Linked DNA regions of Homo sapiens: region 1 is linked to region 2. Evidence: promoter capture Hi-C in human tissues and cell types (Jung and others, 2019). All regions are on one chromosome and are shown on one strand. Each heading gives the region's core, a stretch centred on a gene start or on the middle of the fragment in contact. The rest is flanking DNA. Distances are from core to core; before and after follow the strand shown.

Evidence for each region. The method cuts DNA at HindIII sites, captures the fragments that hold promoters and counts their contacts. A contact is called where the count stands out against the background at its distance.
Region 1: a fragment that was not itself captured here is called in contact with the fragment with the promoter of AADAT in region 2 in 2 of the 25 tissues and cell types used here (dorsolateral prefrontal cortex and hippocampus).

What each region holds. Positions count from the first base shown.
Region 1 is chr4:169,658,913-169,665,480 of GRCh38, reverse strand. All of the region lies in intron 2 of CLCN3 (chloride voltage-gated channel 3), which reads right to left. Among named protein-coding and RNA genes, the nearest start is that of CLCN3, 42 kb to the right of the region's middle. RefSeq lists silencers at 1,249-1,543, 4,789-4,848 and enhancers at 5,149-5,248, 4,431-5,303. The HindIII fragment of the contact is 4,052 bases long and covers 1,950-6,001 here.
Region 2 is chr4:170,085,384-170,091,295 of GRCh38, reverse strand. AADAT (aminoadipate aminotransferase) reads left to right here and starts at 1,340. Exons shown (of 13, transcript NM_016228.4): 1 at 1,340-1,672; 2 at 2,732-2,900; 3 at 4,048-4,180. The coding sequence starts at 1,606. RefSeq lists a silencer at 1,824-2,118. The HindIII fragment of the contact is 6,677 bases long and covers 1-2,441 here.

The DNA of each region.
Region 1 (6,568 bases), core at 2,726-5,225, 430 kb after region 2:
AATGGCAAGAATAGTGCCTCACATTTAGCAGGTGGTCAATTAAATGTCTACTGGGTAAATAAATAGCAAAAAAGAAGCATACGCTATTAAAATTTGTTCAGCCATTCAGTCATATTTAACTGTCTAAACTGCAAAGACTTGCAAGTTAATGCCAAATCTCAAAGAAGTTTACCAAAGATACACAACCAGGCAGCAGCAATACTAAGCCCATTACTCAATTCACTGTTTTCTTTTCTGTTCTGTTGCCACCTCAAAATAAAAAGCCACATCCTTAGTTAGAGATGATAAGGTGGATATTAAGACATCTGTGTAATTGGAAACAAGTTCCACATTCAATTATTATGTCTGCAAATATGATGAGCTGTACAATACATGAATAAAAAGGTTTATAAAATTTGCTAAATTTCATATTTCATAAATTTATAAAATTTGTTAGAGAAACTAGAGTAAATCCATTTTATGACCTAATTAAAGTTGCAAAGGGCTACAAAGAAACTAGAAATTAAACATATGTTAACTTAAAAACAAGAAACAAAACCTTAAAGTTCAATTTAAACTACCAGTCTCCTGCATAAACGCAAAGCAGAAACCTCGATGCTGGGAAAATAGCCAAAATTACAAACTTAATCAATGCGGCAGGAAATCTGTTCACACTCGGAAATCTTGATACAAAGCATTTCTGACAAGCCATGAGATGGCATAAAATTAACCATACTAAAGTGTCAGCTATTTTTAGAAAATCAAGCTAGAGGTAGTAATATGAACCAGATTTTATTGAAGATTTGAAATTCAGATACTGTGGGAAAAGTACATTTAAAAACAGGCTTTGTTTTATACTACTGTTGTAGAAACAAGGAGTTTCTGACACCAAATAAAGAATCTTTAGTTGTTCCTTTAATTTACAGACACTTAGATGGATTAATTTTTAAGAAGAGGTTTAATTTTCTAGTTGGATAAAATATTAGGGCCAATAAAAATATAATAAGTATCTGAATCCTAAAATCATTTTACAAAGAGCCTGCAGAATGTCCCTCTGGCAATAAGAATATCATATAACACCTGGATTTTCAAATAATGTGCAAAAAATGATACTTTTCAAAGGGAAGAAAAAGGAACAAACCTCTATTATAATAGAAACCCAAAAAAGCTTTATTTAGATACACTGCTGAGCTAATGAATGTCAAGAAATAATTTCAGGGAGAAACTTGAAAAAATAAGACCCCAAACTTTTATTTCAATGGCAAAGCGACACTTTTTGTGGTTTAAGCCCATCATTAGTCCTCTAGGATCTGCCACTCTTCCAACTTCCACCTTTCTACACTACCCTCTCTACTGACTCACAACAAAGCTGCCTTTGTTGTATCAAAACTAATCCAAGAGCAACACACTAGGCATTTCCTCCTGTTATCGCATTTACTCATTTTATTATATCCACCAGGAATGCCCTATTGAGTCCCCTGTGTATGTGAGAACAGTCTACTTTGATAACACTTGTCAAAAGCAGACTAATCTGTTCTTGGGACTTTGGGGGAAGAAGAGATTTCTATCATTTCTATCGTTCACTAGAAATTTACTAACTTCCACAGGATTCTGTCTGTGTTTAAACTTCTTATGCTTCTACCAGACTTAAAACACAAGTTACTATGAAGATACGTGTAGAGAGAAGCAGTTTAGCCTCATGATTAAAGTATGAGCCAAATATCTGGATGGAATTCTGACTTTTCCTTAACAATTCCTTACCTCAGTCTTGTCAACTAGAAAATGGGGATTATAACAGTACCTACTTCATAAACTTGTGATGAGGATTTAAATAATTTCATACACATAAAGCACTTAGAACAAGCCAGGCACAGTGGCTCGCACCTGTAATCTCAGCTACTTGGGAGGCCAAGGCAGGAGGGTTGCTTGAGCCCAGGAGTTGGAGACCAGCCTGGACAACATAGTGAGACTCTCCCTAAAAAAAAAAAAAATTTTGTTTTTTAAATTAGCCAGGCAAGGTGTTGCAAGCCTGCAGTCCCAGGTACCAAGGAGGGTGAGACGGAGGATCTAAGCCCAGTAGTTCAAGGCTGCATTTGCTATAATCACTCCACTGCACTCCAGCCTGGGTGAAAAAGTGATACCTCTCTCTTAAGAAAACAACAACAACAACAACAACAACAACAACAAAAAAACCCACTTAGGACAGTATCCAGCTAACAGGAAATTCTAATAAATATTAACTATTATTAATATTACTATTTTTATAATTCTCCACAGCACCTAGGAGTGCCATATGTGTGTGTATATGTATATATATATATACACATATACGCACACACACACATATATATACACACACACACACACACACACACATATATGCTCACTCTGAATGAAACAATTAAATATTTAAATAATTGTTAAAGGCCCCTCATGGAGTAAATGGAGGCTCAGGCCCAAAAGATCAAATCCATTATAAAGGGTTGGTAGAAGAAAGAAATTTGACCTCTAAAACTACTTAAACATCTTGAACAAATTAAGAAGAAAAAGTGTAAAACTAACAGTCCAGATAAGCCAAGTCTTTTTTCCTGATAAAAAAGGAAGAGACATTTTGAGAGAGCTTGATTGTTTCTATATAGGAAATCTACCCCTAAAGATGGCTATTTCTGAAATGTCATCTTAATTTCTAATCTATCAATAGTATATCAAACTAATTCTAATTTGAATCTACTTATACTTCCAGACTTGACATTATTTACTTAAATAGGAAGCTTCACCATTTACCATCTCGCCTTGAAAAGTAGTATTAAATTCAATTTACTCAACAAAGGTAATCCTTGGCTATAGCACTCAGGGATTTACTAAACAGATCCATGTTTACTTTATTGATATCCTTCACAATTTTATACTTTATCTGCCTCTTCACTATCAGGCTGAAGATCAATTTTAATCATTATAGTTTTGTTCTTCCTCACAGGGAAGCTGATTCAGTTTTTTCGATTTGTTAGCTGCCTGTCTCCATCAATTCCATTGTGTTGACCCATGGCTACAACAGGTCATAAATTATGGACAAAAAATAACATCTTACGCATAGACACTAGGATACTACAGTATGTTTGAGGTAATACAGTACAGTCACGAAAGCCTAATAACTGACTTATCTCTACTACACATACACAATGTTACTTTCAAATAACAATGACTTATATTAATAGAATAAGTCTCATCAAGGGATAAAGAACCTATTTGAGCTGCCAAGAGTGGGACTGATTTAGATCCTAAGCAAGATTCTTAAAGGATTATTTATGAAAGTATAATAGAAATAAAAAGCTTACGTTTAGGTAATATCAGTAACCATGCCTACTCTCACATAAGTTTTGACTTATTTCTTATTATTTGCATATTTTACACTAAGACAGTCCATAAGTAAGTTCTGTCAAAGACTGTTAAGCTTCACAAAAGGAATTTAAATTTCTGAAGCCCAGGTATTCTGATCTATCATCATTAACAACCAAATGTTGTAATAGCATGAGGAAAATACAGTCTGTCTTGTTTTACAGTTTAATTACTGATTAGCAAATAATGTGACATTTGAACAGTCACTATTCATTCACCTTGCTTCCTGTTTAAAGAACTCCTTACCAGAAAACTGATAATCAGAACATAGGAAATAGAAGAATTTATGATCGTAACATTAAGAAAAAAAATTTAAAAAGCTCTGGGTGGTGTGATTACAAGAAATTATTTTCTTCTTTATGCTTTTAGATATTTCTTCCAAATGTTCTAACATATACATATACACATATATCAAAATTTTATTAAGAAGGTAACTCTGTAAGAGAAAGCACAATGTATGTAACATGATCCTTACACAGCTTTTCTCAAAATGTAAAAAGCAAGTTTTTACTAACTACAGAATACTGCAAGATAAATAATGCTACAACTGTTCAGACCCTAAAATAGTGTGTAGCAGACACAATGCAACCAACAGACATTTGTTGAATACATTATAATGTTTAAATTATAGTGGAACTTAATACTAAAAAAAAAGTGTTATCAGAACACAAAGTATATTTTAAATAAAGCAGGCTAATTATATTAGAAAAACATTATTACTTCCTTATATACTTACAAATAAAAGTTTGGGTTAAATCATAAGGTGAGTTTATAATATCATGCAGTAATTCAAACTAATGTGGCTCAAAAATGAAGTCACATAAGCTAAGAGATTTTTCTTGAAGTTCAATTTTTTTCTAGGACAACAAATGTCGACCAGTCTGTTTTTCGAATAAGCAATTAAACAAAAATGAAAAAAAGGGTAGTAATTAACATGCAATTAATTTTAAGGAGACTGAGGAAGTGCCTGCCAAAAGATTTACAGGCATGCTGGGTGCTCTTCTGCTTTTCACAAACCAATATTATTTTTTCTGACATTTAGTCAAATGTGTTTTATCATATCAAATTTCACAAGATACCTGTGGAAGACAATGTAGTATGTTACTCAGCCGAAATACATATTAAATAAAAAGTATTAATATAGAAATTATTCATCTTTACTATCATTTTAAAATGTTCTAAAATGTAGGTAAAGCTTTTGCTATAAATTTACTTTGTGGTGTAAAATCTACATGGTAATTGGCAGCAGCTAAAATATAATGGTACATAGGCACCTGATTTCTCTGTGTAAATTAAAGGAAATGTAAGTTTTCTGAAGGAAGAAAAACATTACTTTTTAGATGCCAACCAACACGACTTTAGTTGGCTGTAAAAGCAGATTAATTCATTTTCAGAGTTAGAAAGAAGATTTTCATGCAGAAGATGGAGTCGGAGCCCGACGTGATCTGAAGCAGTACTAATCTGCACAGAGAAAACAATCAGGGATGGCTACACAACCATTCAGAAGGTTGCATTTTCCCCTTACTAACAACCCAGGGCAACTAAACAACGTACTGCAGTATTTAAAGGACAAACGAGAACCAGTTTAAGCTAGAGGACCGCCCAGCCGCATGCAAAACATACCAACAGAGAATTCACAGCAAGGGGATAGTATTACCTCTTTTATGTAATTCCCTCAGGGGAATACTGTCTCCTCCCCCGTCATAAGGCAAATAAGGGTCGGAAGAAGCATCCATGATTAGAATTTTTAAATAGAAGAAGAAAAAGAAAAAGAAAAAGCTTGCTAGCTTAAAAAGAAAGTGACATTTCTTCCATCCCTGCTGCAGCAAGCAAGGGAGATGCCATATTTGATGAGGTTAAAACTGTAGTTCGACTCGCTGAAGCAACTGGGTTCTTCCACAGTGGATGATGTCATCAAAGGGAAATTATTGCAGCCTGGTTGCTAGTGGCTACAATCTAGCAAGGCTTAGAGGCGGCACAGCCTTCTTAATCAGGTCCTGCTACGTATGACAATGACTAAGCTCCAAGTACAACACACAAAACTGGTTTGAGAATTTTGAAACACTCACAATACAGCTTCGGTAGCATCAGTGGTAACTACAGTAAAACAATAGAAACATTATTTCTTTTGGTTTTAAGATAAATATAAAGGGGAAAAAGTAATACAGAGATGTAAAAAGGAAATTTTGAATGCAGACAATGCCCTTTTTCATTTCTAATGTAGAAAAATGAGAGCAGCACTCTAGTAAGTTTGTGTGGTTTTACGAGAGAATGTACTAGTTTTATACAGTAATGTCATGTGAGTCATAGCCATAAAAAAACTACAATATGCCAAAGGTTTCTCAAGAAACTTGGTTCTAAGTCTATTAAAAATAAAAAAAAAATACTCTATAATACAGCAGCCTTTCATTGAGGATTTAAAAACCGAATAACTGAAGAGTTGAATAGTGTTTTATCCCACTCACCAATCTCCTCCAGCGGCTTCTTGTTTCCTTTCTTGAAGGAACTAGCTAGTAAGACATTGTAGCTTTTGAGGAGAAAGAAAACTATCAACGTACTAAGTAACTTTACTATTGTATGTGTCTAAACTACGCAAAAAAGAGGTTTACTAAGCAGAGGGCTTTCCTATCTCTACTAGCTTCCTATTTTATCTCATAAGGGTTTTGTGTTTTTAACTTTTAGCAAAAATGTGTCTCAAAGTGAGGTACTCAACTGTTCTAGAAATTGTTATAAAATTCAGAAATTGTCTCTTTAATAGAAATTTTTATGAAGTTCAGAAATAAAGCAACTTTCTTGTTTAAAACTGTCATTAAAAACAAAAACAAAAACCGCACAATGCTTATTGAAGATCAGAGTTCAATATTTTATAGCTACCTCTGAGAGGATTCCTCTAGACTGGGAGATTCTCCTCCTGAAATGCCTGTTACACAGTGTCACTAAACAACAACAACAACAAAAGGTGTTGTTCATTAGAAGCAATTCCACAGAACTCAAGGGTTCTATAAAATTTGTTTTCCTAAAGTATTGAATGAGACAATCTCTAAGGTCCACTCGAACTGAAAGTGTTTACATGAAAATTGGAGGTGAGAGAAGGAAAGAGAAAACTCAGAGGGCAGTAAAGAGAAGAGAGAAATTCTCTTCAATTTGTGGAGTACTAAATTTTACTTATTTAGGGTCTTTTTAAAAAACTGTA
Region 2 (5,912 bases), core at 91-2,590:
CCCACCCGGAACTCTAGCTGGCTCGCAAGCGCCCGCACAGCCCTGGTTCCCGCCCGTGCCTCTCCCTACACACCTCCCCGCAGGCTGAGGGAGCCGGCTCCGGCCTCCGCTATCCCAGGAAGGGGCTCCCACAGTGCAGCGGCGGGCTGAAGGGCCCCTCAAGCGCGGTCAGAGTGAGCGCTGAGGCCGAGGAGGCGCCAAGAGTGAGCGAGGGCTGCGAGGGCTGCCAGCAGGCTGTCACCTCTCAATACTTCCTTTTTGTTATTTAGCTGCTAGCACAAAGATTTTACTGGGTTATCTCAGCCTTTTGCTGCCAGGACCTAGATAAAAGCAGTGGCTCCTTGACCAACCTATTAGGTAAACTTAAAAGAGAGCCATTTGGCAGTGAGTCAATAATCATCTAGGAAGTACTCAGTAAATTTGTGCTGAATGAATGAATCTGTTCATTCATTTTAATAACCATTAAAGAATTTTTTAAAGTCAAAGAGAGGTTGTCTGAAACCCTTCCCTCATTAAGTGCTCACATTAAACCTTGTACATTCCATTTTGGTGATTCAGGAAGGAGAAATTGCAGAAAAGTTGAGGGAGGTGGGGAGTAAGAAGGGTTATTTTGTAAGAAAAAAAAAGGCAAGGTGCTAGACCCAAAAAGATCCGGATATTCACTTCCAACATAATTCTTATTTAACGAAAGGTCAGAAATTCAATGTGAGGGTAGACACTAAAATTGAAGAGACTCAGAGTGATTTTTCAAAAATTTTTGTCAGAACTCCATCGTCACTCCAAAATGCTGAGATCTTCGAGAAAGTGATGTTGAAATTCGTCTTGGTCGCCGGGATGCTTCCCAGGAGAGTGCCCAGAGTTTCACTAACGAAAGATGGGTATTTAGCATAGCCATGGTCTGAGCGGGCAAAATGCACAGTCCCAGTGACTGAGAGGAGGCCAGCGGAGCGCGCGGGAACGAGGGTGGGGCCGCTCCCGGCTGGGCGCAGCTCGGGAGCCCCCTGCAGTGGACCCAAGTCGCCGCCAGATGGTTCCCGAGGATTAGGATCACGGGCACTTCCGGTCCCCTCGGTCAGCCCCTGGGCTAGCCTCTGGGCCGGCGCCTAGGCCGGCCAACGCGGACGCCGGGTTGCGGTGATTCCCAGCGGCGAGGTCAAGAGTCATTGGCCTGGGGCTGCAAGCGCCTCGCGCCTGGGCTACCCCGCGCCCTGCGCTCTGAGGGCGATGATCCGGGACGGGGAGGCGCGCGCCGCGGGCGGCCATAGGCCACGGCGCGGGGCGGGAGGGGGCGCGGCGAGGCCCGCGGCGGGGCAAAACCGGCCTGGGCCCTGGCGGCCGCAGGAGCGCGTGCGGCGTGGACTTTGCCGGGCTCGCCACACAGCCCCAGACCCGTTTAGGACCGGGAGACCGAACGCAGCGTCCAGCCGGGGAGTTTCGGCGGCGTTCTCCGGGCACCGCGCGCGGGAAGCCAGACGCAGCGGGGGGACACATCTCGCGGTGGCGTTGCCAGAGTGAGGAGTTAGCAGGCAGGACTTGACGAGGCTCTTTGGTTTTTCTAGTCCTCAACCACTGAAGAAGAAGCTTGATGCTTGGCTGTCAGAAGACATGAATTACGCACGGTTCATCACGGCAGCGAGCGCAGCCAGAAACCCTTCTCCCATCCGGACCATGAGTGAGAAACGGGGTGACCATCTCTCCTTTGGGGTGGGGCATTCCTCGCACAGCCTCTAAGGAGGGTTCCCTAGCAAGCCACCGCTTGGTTGCATCCATGCGTACCCCTGTGCACGCTCGCGGTGAGCCAGGCTCTGCGTGCAGAAATGAAATAGACACAGCCTTTGTTCTCAAAGAACTCGGGCTGAAACGGAAGGCGGGTATTTCTGCTGGAGCAGAGTAGGAGCAACAGTAGAGAGAGGCGCAGACTGCTGTGGGGCACGGCCTTGGAAGGGAGGGGGCGTGCTATCAAGAAAGGCTCTTCCTGGGAAGCTGAGAAGGGGCATGCACAGCGTGCAGATGGGTGTACAGTGGAGAGGGCCAGGTAAATGGGAGAGGGGTGGGCCATGAAGCTCACAGACAGGTCGGGGCTAAGTGGAGGAGGGCTTCTGCTATTGTGGCCCTTTGCTGTCTTTCTGATCCCTCTGCCTTCTCTTTGGTCACCTTCATTCTTTAGTCCCTCCACAAGTGAGGTGCCTAGAAAAAGTTATTCTGTATGTTTATTTTAGACTAGCTTTTGTCTTAGTCCATTCAGGCTGCTATAACAAAATACCACAAACTGGGTAATTTATGAACAATAGAATTATTTCTCACAGTTCTGGAAGCTAGGAAGTCTAAGATCAAAGTGCCAGCAGCTTCTGTGTCACCATGGTGAGAGCCCTTCCTTATAGACAGAGCCATCTTGCTGCATCCTCACGTGGTAGAAGGGAGAACCTATGTCCTCACGTGGCAGAAGGGCCAAGGGCATTCCCTCAGCCCTCTTTTATAAGTGCACCAATCCCATTCAGGAGGGTGGATCCCTCCTGACCTAATCACCTCTAGAGACCCCACCTGTTAAAACTATCACATTAGTATTAACTTCCAAGTATGAATCTGGGGGAGCACCAACATTTAGACCATAGCACACTCTATCACTAGAAATCGTTAAACTTTATAGTTTTATTGACTATAATGCATGCTTAACTATCCGCTTATAACAATCTTCAATGAAATTGTTTCTTCTCTTCCATGTGTATTGTAGCTGACATATTGAGCAGAGGACCAAAATCGATGATCTCCTTGGCTGGTGGCTTACCAAATCCAAACATGTTTCCTTTTAAGACTGCCGTAATCACTGTAGAAAATGGAAAGACCATCCAATTTGGAGAAGAGATGATGAAGAGAGCACTTCAGTATTCTCCGAGTGCTGGGTAAGTATCAATACTTAACATAATTTTATTGGCTTATTTTCATAAGAAATATTCTAAGGCCCATTGATAAAGAATATTAAAGAAATATTCTAAGGTCCATTCATAAATATTCTAAAGCCATTGACCCATTTGGTCATTCAATGACCAAATACTCAGTCATTGAATACTAACCAAATGAGTATTCAATGGTTAGGAAGGTCTGGGGAAAGGTTTTCAAAGGATAATTAAGAACAGAAAGGATATTGAATGTTTAACACTCCTCAGTGATTGCTTCTCAATCGCAAATGACCAAGAAGGCTTCTAGAAGGAAATACCATTAGAGCTGAGTCCAAAAAAATGAGAAGATGTCCAGGTGAAACAAACATATCAGGAGAAATGAAGAAACGGAAGATCCAGGAAGCTTCAACTTTTTAAAGTTTAAGCATCCTGGATCTTCCGTTTCTTCATTCTATAGTCTAAACAAGCAGTCATGCAAATACATTGAATATAGTCATTCATTTCTATAGTCTAAACAAGCAGCCATTCAAATACATTGCCCTCATAGGTTCAAATGTCTTTAATTTCTTAAAGGCAAGCTGAAACATATACCTTGACTTTCTTAGCTGGTCTTCTTCAAGTGATAAAGGATAATTTATAGAGAATCTATAAATTATACTTTATTAAAACCTGCTTTGTTCTGTGATTGAAAAGTGTATTGAAATGTTATTCATGTATATATGTGTTAGTTATGTAATATGTTAAATATACATAGGCTTATTCAAACATTCCATGATACAAACAACTTATTGAGTCTGAACTTCTAGGTAGCCATAGAACTCTTCCTAGAGAGAACAAAGAATCGATTATGCAACGCATGCGCTAAAGACTTCAGGTTTGGAATAAGAAAGATGTAGATTCAAATCTCAGCTCATTTATTACGTAATTGACTTTCTGAGAATTTCTGGCTGAATGACTTACAGGAATTTCCTAATCTCTAAGTCTACTGCCTATCTTTTAAATAGGAATATTCATACTGGCAAAAAGCATTTGAGGGTTTTTTAATTGAGTGTACAAAGTGCTTGATAAAGCTGTCATTTATTATTTCCTGTCTACTACTGTTACTATGATTTTTACTACTATGAATTTAAATATACATTTTTTGCTTTAGAATTCCAGAGCTTTTGTCCTGGCTAAAACAGTTACAAATAAAATTGCATAATCCTCCTACCATCCATTACCCACCCAGTCAAGGACAAATGGATCTATGTGTCACATCTGGCAGCCAACAAGGTCTTTGTAAGGTAAGACTGAAAGGAAAACTCAGCCAAAATGTAGAATTGGAAGCATTCATTTCTATAGTCCTCTCGCACTTAACCACAGAGAATTATATTTTATGGATTACTGGTAGTCTTTCTTGTCTTCACCTAGAATTATAAACAGGGAACTAAAAGACAAGTCATAGGATGGGGGTGGGAGCAGTTGTGGCCGGGGATGGGCAAGGGTGGGTAGGGGGTGTTGACTGTAAGCAAAAGCCAGGTGGAAATATTGTAGGTTGATCTATCAATATTTCCCCCTAGTTTTCCTCATTGTGAACACAAGGACTTTGAAAAATTACCTGCTCTTAACATCATTCACTAGCCTAATCTTTCTTAAATATTAAATACAGAGCATGTGGTCAATTACCCAGACCTATTAACCATTAAAGCAGGATGCCCACTAAGGGAGTACTCAACTCCTACCAAAAGCTTAGTGAACACTGCTTAATTTCATCTGGCTCAAAAATTCAAGTTACGTTTGATTTCCGCCTATAGTTAGGAAATTTCAATACAATTTTTAAATTTTTTAGAGGGCATGCTTTCATATTCCTGAGATACACATATTTATATTCTTTTACATATCTGTCTGTAGAATCTCTCCTTGCCACTGCTTGTATCTTGTCCCCCTCTTGGGTGTATTTCTCTAGATCTATTTATATGTCTGTATTTCTGACTTCTTATATGGATTGGTTCTCTCTCCCTCTCCCCCTGGCATTAGTTATTCCATCTTCTTCCCTTCTGGGTTCCGGGAACTCCACAGATGTAAACACCACTGGTTAGTTGCCACAATAAAGAGACCACATCTGTGGTCCTCAGTTTGATCTGTTATTTTCTTTTCTTTCTTTTTTTTTTTTTGAGACAGGGTCTCACCCTGTCACCCAGACTGGAGTGCGGTGGCGCAATCACGGCTCCCTGCAGTCTCGACCTCCCTGGGCTCCAACAATTCTTCCACCTTAGCCTCCCAGGTAGCTGGGACTGCGGGTGCACACCAATATGCCTAGCTAATTTTTATATTCCTTTGCCATGTTGGACAGGCTGGTCTTGAGCTCATGGGCTCAAGCAGTCTGTCCACCTTGGCCTCCCAAAGTGCTGGTATATTTTCTCCTTTGTTTTCCATGAATAATAAGATTCTCTATATTCATTCTCAGATCTAAATTAATCTATGACTCCCATTTATCTTTATCTTAAACCAGAGTAGTTTTCTTTTTCATGGAAATATGAAAACTGTAATCTGGTTTGCTTTAATGAATTTTAATTAAATTATTGTTACAGAATAATGGGTTACAGTAGTAAAAACATTTTTTAAAGTTTTTAAAAATTAAAAAAACTTACCCTTTTTGTATTTAATTAGGAAAAGTAAAAGAATTAGCTAGTGTTTGAGTCTTTGCTTGAAGAGAAACATTTGTGATTGTATAGAATGATATAAGAGTATTTTTTAATGAAATAAATTCTTTCCTCAAGAAAGGATACTATGGACTTTTTCTTCCAGAAAGTTGCTCAAGACAGTTTCTTCTTTATCCATCACAACACCAGTTACACAAAAAAGGAAGATAGCATAGATTGCTAAATACGTCAATAACTTACTACTTACAGACATGCTTATTATAGGGGCACTAATATGTATCTGGTTTAATATTTCTTCCACTTTGTTCTCCAGGAGTCATGTTATTTTAGACTCCTGTGTTTCTCTCTCATCTTTTAAACAGTGCTCCCAGAT